Linked DNA regions of Homo sapiens: region 1 is linked to region 2. Evidence: promoter capture Hi-C in human tissues and cell types (Jung and others, 2019). All regions are on one chromosome and are shown on one strand. The core of a region is centred on a gene start or on the middle of the fragment in contact, and the rest is flanking DNA. Distances in the headings are between cores, read along the strand shown. Region 1 overlaps ZNF69 (zinc finger protein 69). Region 2 holds the start of ZNF441 (zinc finger protein 441).

Region 1 (5,834 bases), core at 652-3,151, 140 kb after region 2:
CCTGATCTCCAAGTAGCCTAACTGGGAGGCACTTCCCAGTAGGGGCCAACTGACACCTCATACGGCCGTGTGCCCCTCTGTGACGAAGCTTCCAGAGGAAGGATCAGGCAACAACATTTGCCGTTCTGCAATATTTGCTGTTCTGCAGCCCCTGCTGGTGATACCCAGGCAAACAGGGTCTGGAGTGGACCTCAAGCAAAATCCAACAGACCTCAGCTGAGGGTCCTGACTGTTAGAAGGAAAACTAACAAACAGAAAGGACAACCACACCAAAACCCATCTGTACATCACCATCATCAAAGACCAAAAGTAGATAAAACCACAAAGATGGGGAGAAACCAGAGCAGAAAAGCTGAAAATTCTAAACATCAGAGCGCCTCTTCTCCTCCAAAGGAACGCAGCTCCTCGCCAGCAATGGAACAAAGCTGGACTTTGACTTTGACGAGCTGAGAGAAGAAGGCTTCAGATGATCGGTAATAACAAACTTCTCCAAGCTAAAGGAGGATGTTCGAACCCATCACAAAGAAGCTAAAAACCTTGAAAAAAGATTAGACAAAATGGCTAACTAGAATAAACAGTGTAGAGAAGACCTTAAATGACCCGATGGAGCTGAAAACCATGGCACGAGAACTATGTGATGCATGCACAAGCTTCAGTAGCTGATTCAATCAAGTGGAAGAAAAGGTATCAGTAATTGAAGATCAAATGGATGAAATGAAGTGAGAAGAGAAGTTTAGAGAAAAAAGAGTAAAAAGAAATGAAAAAGCCTCCAAGAAATATGGGACTATGTGAAAAGACCAAATCTATGTCTGATTGGTGTACCTGAAAGTGACAGGGATGGAACCAAGTTGGGAAACACTCTTCAGGATATTATTCAGGAGAACTTCCCCAACCTAGCAAGGCAGACCAACATTCAAATTCAGGAAATACAGAGAACGCCACAAAGATACTCCTCGAGAGGAGCAACTCCAAGACACATAATTGTCAGATTCACCAAAGTTGAAATGAAGGAAAAAATGTTAAGGGCAGCCAGAGAGAAAGGTCGGGTTACCCACAAAGGGAAGCCCGTCAGACTAACAGCGGATCTCTTGGCAGAAACTCTACAAGCCAGAAAAGAGTGGGGGCCAATATTCAACATTCTTAAAGGAAAGAATTTTCAACCCAGAATTTCATATCCAGCCATACTAAGCTTCATAAGTGAAGGAGAAATAAAATCCTTTACAGATTCAAATGCTGAGAGATTTTGTCACCACCAGGCCTGCTGTAAAAGATCTCCTGAAGGAAGCACTAAACATGGAAAGGAACAACCGGTACCAGCCACTGCAAAAACATGCCAAATTGTAAAGACCATTGAGGCTAGGAAGAAACTGTATCAACTAACGAGCAAAATAACCAGTTAACATCATAATGACTGGATCAAATTCACACATAACAATATTAACCTTCAATGTAAATGGGCTAAATGCTCCAATTAAAAGACACAGACTGGCAAATTGGATAAAGAATCAAGACCCATCAGTGTGCTGTATTCAGGAGACCCATCTCACGTGCAGAGACATACATAGGCTCAAAATAAAGGGATGGAGGAAGATCTACCAAGCAAATGGAAAACAAACAAAAAAAGCAGGGGTTGCAATCCTAGTCTCTGATAAAACAGACTTTAAACCAACAAAGATCAAAAGAGACAAGGCCATTACATAAAGGTAAAGGGATCAATTCAACAAGAAGAGCTAACTATCCTAAATATTTATGCACCCAATACAGGAGCACTGAGATGCATAAAGCAAGTCCTTAGAGACCTACAAAGAGACTTAGACTCCCACACAATAATAATGGGAGACTTTAACATCCCACTGTCAACATTAGACAGATCAATGAGACAGAAAGTTAACAAGGATATACAGGAATTGAACTCAGCTCTGCACCAAGAGGACCTAATAGACATCTACAGAACTCTCCACCCCAAATCAACAGAATATACATTCTTCTCAGCACCACATCACACTTATTCCAAAATTGACCACATAGTTGGAAGTAAAGCACTCCTCAGCAAATGTAGAAGAATAGAAATTATAACAAACTGTCTCTCGGACCACAGAGCAATCAAACTAGAACTCAGGATTAAGAAACTCACTCTAAACCACTCAAATACATGGAAACTGAACAACCTGCTCCTGAATGACTACTGGGTACATAACAAATGAAGGCAGAAATAAAGATGTTCTTTGAAACCAATGAGAACAAAGACACAACATACCAGAATCTCTGGGACACATTTAAAGCAGTTTGTAGAGGGAAATTTATAGCACTAAATGCCCACAGGAGAAAGCAGGAAAGATGTAAAATTGACACCCTAACATCACAATTAAAAGAACTAGAGAGGCAAGAGCAAACACATTCAAAAGCTAGCAGAAGGCAAGAAATAACTAAGATCAGAGCAGAACTGAAGGAGACAGAGACAGAAAAAACCCTTCAAAAAATCAGTGAATCCAGGAGCTGTTTTTTTGAAAAGATCAACAAAATTGATAGACCGCCAGCAAGACTAATAAAGAAGAAAAGAGAGAAGAATCAAATAGATGCAATAAAAAATGATAAAGGGGATATCACCACCGATCCCACAGAAATACAAACTACCATCAGAGAGTACTATAAATACCTCTATGGAAATAAACTAGAAAATCTAGAAGAAATGGATAAATTCCTGGACACATACACCCTCCCAAGACTAAACCAGGAAGAAGTCGAATCCCTGAATAGACCAATAACAGGCTCTGAAATTGAGGCAATAATTAATAGACTACCAACCAAAAAAAGTCAAGGACCAGATGGATTCACAGCTGAATTCTACCAGAGGTACAAAGAGGAGCTAGTACCATTCCTTCTTAAACTATTCCAATCAATAGAAAAAGAGGGAATCCTCCCTAACTCATTTTATGAGGCCAGCAACATCCTGATACCAAAGCCTGGCAGAGACACAACAAAAAGAATTTTAGACCAATATACCTGATGAACATCGATGCAAAAATCCTCAATAAAATACTGGCAAACCAAATCCAGCAGCACATCAAAAAGCTTATCCACCACGATCAAGTTGGCTTCATCCCTGGGATGCAAGGCTGATTCAACATATGCAAAGCAATAAACGTAATCCATCATATAAACAGAACCAAAGACAAAAACCACAAGATTATCTGAATAGATGCAGAAAAGGCCTTCGACAAAATTCCACAGCCCTTTATGCTAAAAACTCTCAATAAACTGGGTATTGATGGGATGTATCTCAAAATAATAAGAGCTATTTATGACAAACCTACAGTCAATATCATATACTGAATGGGCAAAAACTGGAAGCATTCCCTTTGAAAACTGGCACAAGACAGGGATGCCCTCTCTCACCACTCCTATTCAACATAGTGTTGGAAGTTCTGGCCAGGGCAATCAGGAAGGACAAAGAACTAAAGGGTATTCAAGTAGGAAAAGAGGAAGTCAAATTGTCCCTGTTTGCAGATGACATGATTGTATATTTAGAAAACCCTATCATCTCAGCCCAAAATCTCCTTAAGCTGATAAGCAACTTCAGCAAAGTCTCAGGATACAAAATCAATGTGCAAAAATCACAAGCATTCCTATACACCAACAACAGACAAACAGAGAGCCAAATCATGAGTGAACTCCCATTCACAATTGCTTCAAAGAGAATAAAATACCTAGGAATCCAACTTACAAGGGATGTGAAGGACCTCTTCAAAGAGAACTACAAACCACTGCTCAACGAAATCAAAGAGGACACAAACAAATGGAAGAACATTCCATGCTCGTGGATAGGAAGAATCAATATCATGAAAATGGCCATACTGCCCAAGGTAATTTGTAGATTCCATGCCATCCCCATCAAGCTACCGATGACTTTCTTCACAGAATTGGAAAAAACTACTTTAAAGTTCATATGGAACCAAAGAAGAGCCCACATTGCCAAGACAATCCTAAGCCAAAAGAACAAAGCTCAAGGCATTAGGCTACCTGACTTCAAACTATACTACAAGGCTACAGTAACCAAAACAGCATGGTACTGGTACCAAACAGAGATATAGACCAATGGAACAGAATAGAGCCCTCAGAAATAATACCACACATCTACAACCATCTGATCTTTGACAAACCTGATAAAAACAAGAAATGGGGAAAGGATTCCCTATTTAATAAATGGTGCTGGGAAAACTGGCTAGCCGTATGTAGAAAGCTGAAACTGGATCCCTTCCTTACACCTTATACAAAAATTAAATTCCAGATGGATTAAAGACTTAAATGTTAGACCTAAAACCATAAAAACCCTAGAAGAAAACCTAGGCAGTAACATTCAGGACATAGGCATGGGCAAGGACTTCATGATTAAAACACCAAAAGCAATGGCAACAAATGCCAAAATTGACAAATGGGATCTAATTAAACTAAGGAGCTTCTGCACAGCAAAAGAAACTACCATCAGAGTGAACAGGCAACCTACAGAATGGGAGAAAATTTTTACAATCTACCCATCTGACAAAGGGCTAATATCCAGAATCTACAAAGAACTTAAACAAATTTACAAGAAAAAATCAAACAACCCCGTCAAAAAGTGGGCAAAGGATATGAACAGACATTTCTCAAAAGAAGACATTTATGCAGCCAACAGACACATGAAAAAATGCTCACCATCACTGGCCATCAGAGAAATGCAAATCAAAACCACAATGAAATACCATCTCACACCAGTTAGAATGGCAATCATTAAAAAGTCAGGAAACAACAGGTGCTAGAGAGGATGTGGAGAAATAGGAACACTTTTACACTGTTGGTGGGACTGTAAACTAGTTCAACCATTGTGGAAGACAGTGTGGTGATTCCTCAAGAATCTAGACCTAGAAATACCATTTGACCCAGCCATCCCATTACTGGGTATATACCCAAAGGATTATAAATCATGCTGCTATAAAGACACATGCACACGTATGTTTATTGTGGCACTATTCACAATAGCAAAGACTTGGAACCAAACCAAATGTCCATCAATGATAGGCTAGATTAAGAAAACGTGGCACATATACACCATGGAATACTATGCAGCCATAAAAAATGATGAGTTCATGTCCTTTGTAGGGACATGGATGAAGCTGGAAACCATCATTCTGAGCAAACTATAACAAGGACAGAAAACCAACACTGCATATTCTCACTCATAGGAGAGAACTGAACAATGAGAACACTTGGACACAGGGAGGGAAACATCACACACCAGGGCCTGTCATGGGGTAGGGGGAGGGGAGAGATAGCACTGGGAGATATACCTAATATGAATGACAAGTTAATGGGTACAGCACACCAACATGGCACGTGTATACATATGTAACAAACCTGCACATTGTGCACATGTACCCTAGAACTTAAAGTATAATAATAATAATAATAAAAGAATGCACTCTGTAGAAAGACCTTATAAATGTAAGATATGTGGGAAAGGCTTTTATTCTGCCAAGTCATTTCAAATACATGAAAAATCTTACACTGGAGAGAAACCCTATGAGTGTAAGCAATGTGGTAAAGCCTTTGTTTCTTTCACTTCCTTTCCATATCATGAAAGGACTCACACTGGAGAGAAACCCTATGAGTGTAAGCAATGTGGAAAAGCCTTCAGATCTACCTCACACCTTTGAAAACATGGTAGGACTCACACTGGAGAGAAACCCTATGAATGTAAGCAATGTGGGAAAGCCTTCAGATCTGTCAAAAATTGTTGAATTCATGAAAGGACACACACTGGAGAGAAACCCTGTGAATGTAAGAAATGTGGGAAAGCG
Region 2 (5,729 bases), core at 2,539-5,038:
AGAGGTCAATTTTTTGCTTGTTTCATTTTCTCTTTTTCTTTCAGTTTCTGGCATTGTCAGAACACTGGGTGAATATAAGCTAAAGGGACAGAGACCTCAGTGACTACACTGGACAGGGAATACAGTCTCTATAAATACACTTCTGAAATAAACAAGATTACCAAACAAATAAGCAATTACAGCCTTCAGCGAACATAAATCGCATAAAAAAGAAGGGGGAGAATTTGATTTACAGAGTTACTCTTATTATAATATTCAAATGTCTAGTTTTAACCTTTATTTTAGGTTCCAGGGTACATATGCAGTTTTTTTATATAGACAAACTTGTGTCATGGGAGTTTGGTGTATAGATTATTTCATCACCCAGGTACTAAGCATGATACTTGATAGTTATTTTTTCTTATCCTTTTCTTCCTCCCACCCTTAAGTATGCCTCAGCGTCTGTTGTTCCCTTCTTTGTGTTCACATGTTCCCATTATGTAACTCCCACTTATTAAGTGAGAATATGTGATATTTGGTTTTCTGTTCCTGTGTTAGTTTGTTAAGGATAATAGCCTCCATCTCCATCCATGTTTCTGCAAAGGCATGATCTTGTTCTTTTTTATGGCTGCATAGTATTTCTTGGTGTATATGTGCCAAATGTGCTTTATTCAGTCTACTGTTAACAGGCATTTAGGTTGATTTCATATATTTGCTATTGTGAGTAGTGCTGCAATGAACATAGGTGTGCATGTGTCTTTATGGTAGAATGATCCATATTCCTTTGGGTATGTGGATCCAATACCCCAGTAAATGGGTATTGGATTGCTGGGTCAAACGGTAATTCAGTTTTTAGTGCTTTGAGGAATCACCACGCTGCTTTCCATAATGGTTGAACTAACTTAAACTCCCACCAGCAGAGTATAAGCATTCCCTTTTCTCCACAACCTTCCCAGCATCTGTTATTTTTTGACTTTTTATTAATGGCCATTCTAACTGGTGTGAAATGGTATCTCATTGTGGTTTTGATGTGCATTTCTCTAATGATTAGTGATATTGGGCATTTTTTTTTTCATTTGCTTGTTGATTACATGCATGTCTTCTTTTGAAAAGTGTCTTTAATCCATCTTGAGTTGATTTTTGTATATGGTTTAAGAAAGGGGTTCAGTTTCAATCTTTTGCATATGGCTAGCCAGTTATCCCAGCACCATTGATGAGTCCTTCCCCACTGCTTGTTTTTGTCAGCTTTGTGAAAGATCAGATGGTTGAAGGTGAGCAGCATTATTTCTAGGCTCTCTATTCTGTTCCATTGGTAATGTGTCAGTTTTTGTAAAAATACCTTACTGTAGCCCTGTAGTATATAGTTTGAAGTCTGGTAGCATGATGCCTCCAGCTTTGTTCTTTTTGCTTAGGATTGCCTTGACTATTTGGGACTTTTTAAGTTATTTTTTTCCAAGAACTAAGTCTTGCATTTGCTAATCTTTTGTATGTTTTTTTTTTTTTTTGTATCTCAATTTCCTTCAGTTTAGCTCTGATTTTGGTCATTTTAGCTCTGATTTTGGTCATTTCTTGTCTTCTGCTAGCTTTGGGATTGGTTTGCTCTTGCTTCTCTAGTTCTTCTAGTTGTGATATTGGGTTATTAATTTCAGATCTTTCTTTTTGATTTGGGCAGTTAGTGCTATAAATTTCCATCTTAACACTTCTTTAGCTGTGCCCCAGAGATTCTGGTATGTTGTATCTTTCTTCTCAGTTTCCAAGAATTTCTTGATTTTGGTGTTAATTTCATTATTTACTCAGAAGTCATTCTGAACCAGGTCATTTAATTTTGATATAATTGTATGGTTTGGGGAGATTTTCTTAGTCTTGATTTCTATTTTTATTGCACTGTGGTCTGAGAGTGCAGTTGGTATGATTTTGTTTGCTTGTTTTTTTAATTTGCTGAGGGTTATTTTATGTCTGATTATGTTACTGATTTTAGAGTATGTGCCATGTGGTGAGGAGAAGAATGTATAATCTGTTGGTTTTGGGTGGAAAGTTCTGTAGATGTCATATCCATTTGGTCAGGTGTTGGTGGAAGGCTAAGGAGGAGCAAAGGCAAATGTTACATGGCGGCAGGCAAGAGAGCATGTACAGGGAAACTGCCCTTTATAAAGCCATCAGATTTCATGAGACTTATTCACTATCACGAGAACAGCATGGGAAAACCGCCTCCATGATTCAATTACCTCCCACTGGATCACTCCCATGACATGTGGGGATTATGGGAGCTGCAATTCAAAATGAGATTTGGGTGAGTAAGTCTCATGAGATCCGATGGCTTTATAAAGGGCAGTTCCCCTGCACACGCTCTCTTGCCTGCCGCCATGTAACATTTGCTTTTGCTCCTCCTTTGCCTTCCACCATGATTGTGAGGCCTCCCCAGCCATGCTGAACTGTGAGTCAATTAAACCTCTTTTTCTTCGTATCACCATGGGTGCCAGCTCCCAGTTAATAACGCTTTTTTTTTGTTTGTTTTTAAATAGAGATGGGGGTTTCACCACATTGCCCAGGCCGGTCTTGAGCTCCTGAGCTCAAGCAATCCACCCACCTCAGCCTCCCAAAGTGGTGGGATTGCAGGCATGAGCCACGGTGCCTGGCCTCATAATGCTTTTATATCTGGTATTCTTCATAAAAATATGAAGATGAATGTTTTCAAATTCAAAGTCTAATGTCTCAGCCTTTGATTGAAGCATTTAATTCAATAACATTTATAGGCTTGATGGAAGGAGCATTTCCACGCTGTGTTTAGGAGACAGGAGGGCAAATTGAACTCCCAGAGTTAAATCCATTAGTGCCCCTGACTCATCCCCAGGTTCTGATCCACCCTAGGGCTCCATTTCAGGAATTATCGTCTGGCCTCCAAGCTTTGGAATATGTTTGGCCTCCTGAAAGTGGTTGACTTGTGAACTGTGTGTGGATGCAGCAGGCTGCTTATCTGAGCTAGTTCAAGTTTTTGCTTTATAAAATATTGCCGCCATATAATTCCAGTTTTTCCACACATTTAACAATTTTATTTATTTCTTTTTTCTTTTTTCTTTTTTTTTTTTTTTGAGACGGAGTCTCCCTCTGTCTCGCCCACTCTCTCACTGCAGCCTCTGCCTTCCAGGTTCAAGTGATTCCTCTGTCTCAGCCTCCTGAGTAGCTGGGACTACAGGCGTGCGCCACCACATCCGGCTAATCTTTGTATTTTAGAGACGGGATTTCACCATGTTGGCCAGACTGGTCTCGAATTTCTGACCTCAGGTGATCCACCTGCCTCAGCCTCCCAAAGTGCTGGGATTACAGGTGTGAGCCACCACGCCCGGCTTTGTTGGGGTGTTTTTATATTCTGCACTGAAAATTAGTAGATTGAGACATAAGGTGGGAGAAAGGCTTGGCCTGTGCAGCCAACAGCCTCATCCAAAACTCCTGATTCCTGGAGGACATCAGCCCCTCCCTTCTGCTGCAGTGTGGCCTGGGCTCCCTTCCTGCTCTCAAATCAGGGGATAGCTCCACTGGACAGTGAGTCTGGAATTTCCTGCACAGACTTGTGGGTCCCTGTCCAAGAGGAAAAAGGAGGAAGGTCAGGACATACTGCCTAAATGCAAATGTCCCCTGGGAGGGGGTCAGGTCACAGCGCAGGGAGGAAGCTAGTCCTCTCAAGGCCTGTCTGGAATCTGTTTATCAGGTTCCACTCCGCTGCCCGAGATCGCTTCTTCCGTTACTCAGTGCCCGGGGGAGGGACCTGGCGCACTATCCAATCAGGGCCGCGGGGCGGGGTCGTGAGAACTGTCAATCAGGCGCACTGACCGGAGGAGGGTGCAAGGTTCAAAGAGCCCGCCGAGTCTTCTCCACGCCCCTGCACTGGGCTCCGGGTTCTGTCACTGAGAGACGCCCTGGAACGTCTGTGGCAGCTTCTGTCTCGCTGGGACCCGCACTGACAGCGGGAGGCAGAGGGAGGAACCTGGACGCCGGAAGCCGGGAAATGGTGAGTGTGTGAGGTCTGGTGTCCCGACGCGTGAGAGGAGAGACTGGTTGGAACCGGCCGGAACCGGCTGTGGTGGCACCAGGTCTTCCCCGCCGGCGACACCCTGGCGCAGCTCGGCCCTCGGTTCCCTCGGCCGCACGATGGGGCTGGGGCGGCAGCCGGGACCCCGGGCGTCCTGTCCCGTCCCTGCGCGGCCACTGCGGCCCTGGCCCTGGAGGCCTGTCTGGGCAGCTCCGCGCCCGCAGTCCTGCGTCTCCCCAGATTGTGCGGCTGTAACCGGCACAGGTTCGCGGCCCGAGTCACTGCACCGAGACGCCGAGGGCTGCAGCAGAAACAGTTTAATAGGGGGAGAGGGGAGGACACCCCAGATCCGCCTTCCTGAGAGGTTTGGGGATGGGGTGTTTAGGGGTGTGGACAGGGGCGGCTGGGGCGTGGGGTCGCTGGATGGTGGGGAAGTGAGGGGTGACTCTTGGGACTGGAGGTGAAGAAACCGCATTCTTCTGCTGAGTGGGTTCCCTTGTGGGGTCTTCAGCCTGGTTGGCGCCAGCCTTTCCGCTGGAATTCAGGATCTGAGAAAGAACTCAGGCGACTCTTGAGCAACTCTCAGAGATCTCATCCCCAAGCACAATGGCGAAGCCGGCGGTCAGCATCTGCTGTGGCCTGACTCTTGGGGAGGCGGCCCCGCGAGGCAGCGGGGCTGAGGGCACCTGGTTAATATCTAACTGCAATCTCGCCTCCAGCCTGGCTCGCAGTTCTGTGAACCCGGTGAGGAGGCTGCACGGTGATGACAGGTCACCAGGCAGACTCGTGTGTGGGGTTTGTGTGTGGGAGGAGTTGTGGTCTGTGTGGTCCCCTGTCCCTTCTTTCTTCCCAAGGGTGACCCGTTCGCCTTCGAGTCTTCCAAAGATGTGGGCAGCAGGGTCTCAAGTCCACCACTGTGTTCTCTCATCCTAACTCCTCCTAGGGCCGACAGAAAATCCCTTGGCTTCCAGAGCCTTCCTCAGGCTTTCTCTCCTCAATTCACAGCAACTTTATGAACTCCTTGTCCCCCAGTTTATTTTTCAAACAGAGGCTAGTATTTTAATTGTCATTTTGTTTATACATAGCAATATATGGCTCTTTGTAAAAGGTTTTGTGTTTGTGAACATTTCACATGAGAGGAAGCAGAGAAAAACCACCAGACATTTCGCTGTAAAAAAAATGAATATTAATAAATAAAATCTTTGTTACTGTCCTCCCTTCATCATCCCTAGACAGAGACACCTTTTGAGAATGTCTTTGGATTAAGTTTCCTCTTTGGAAACGTTACAGAGTGATGAGTCCCCAGCCCATCCTCTATGGTTTCCTGGTCCTGGGTTTCAGAGCTGCCTGGGGCCACCCCAAGATGCCCACAGCTGCCAAGTCTCTTGTAGTGTCAAGTGAATATCAGTCCCTTTGTCACTCCTCCCAGAGGACACCCTGAGGTGGAGATGGTGGGACCTTGTAGGGAAGCAGCATGATGCCCTGTAGTGGGAGGAGTCTCCTGGTATACCCTTCCTCAATAAGCTACTTCCTTAGAACACTCAGCTTTTCTTCCCCCATCCCTTCCTTGGGGATATATGGCTGGTCAGCCAATTGGATGGTGGTATTAAGGGGACAGGACTGAAATGATTCTTCCCTTCTGATGTTCTCAGACTAATGAAGGGAGAAAACTATCCCTAAGGACAGGAAAACCAACTCCACTGAGGTGGTGCAAGAACCTGAA

The links. Contacts are between HindIII fragments. The study calls those that stand out against the background at their distance.
Region 1: a contact is called between a fragment that was not itself captured here and the fragment with the promoter of ZNF441 in region 2, in 1 of the 25 tissues and cell types used here (aorta).

The regions. Positions count from the first base shown.
Region 1 is chr19:11,906,388-11,912,221 of GRCh38, forward strand. ZNF69 (zinc finger protein 69) reads left to right here. Exons shown (of 4, transcript NM_001364730.1): 4 at 1-309. It also overlaps the pseudogene LOC107985276. Among named protein-coding and RNA genes, the nearest start is that of ZNF700, 16 kb to the right of the region's middle. The HindIII fragment of the contact is 5,350 bases long and covers 1-4,576 here.
Region 2 is chr19:11,763,212-11,768,940 of GRCh38, forward strand. ZNF441 (zinc finger protein 441) reads left to right here and starts at 3,789. Exons shown (of 4, transcript NM_152355.3): 1 at 3,789-3,985. The coding sequence starts at 3,983. RefSeq lists an enhancer at 3,950-4,049 and silencers at 4,120-4,259, 4,710-4,819. The HindIII fragment of the contact is 15,674 bases long and covers 1-5,729 here.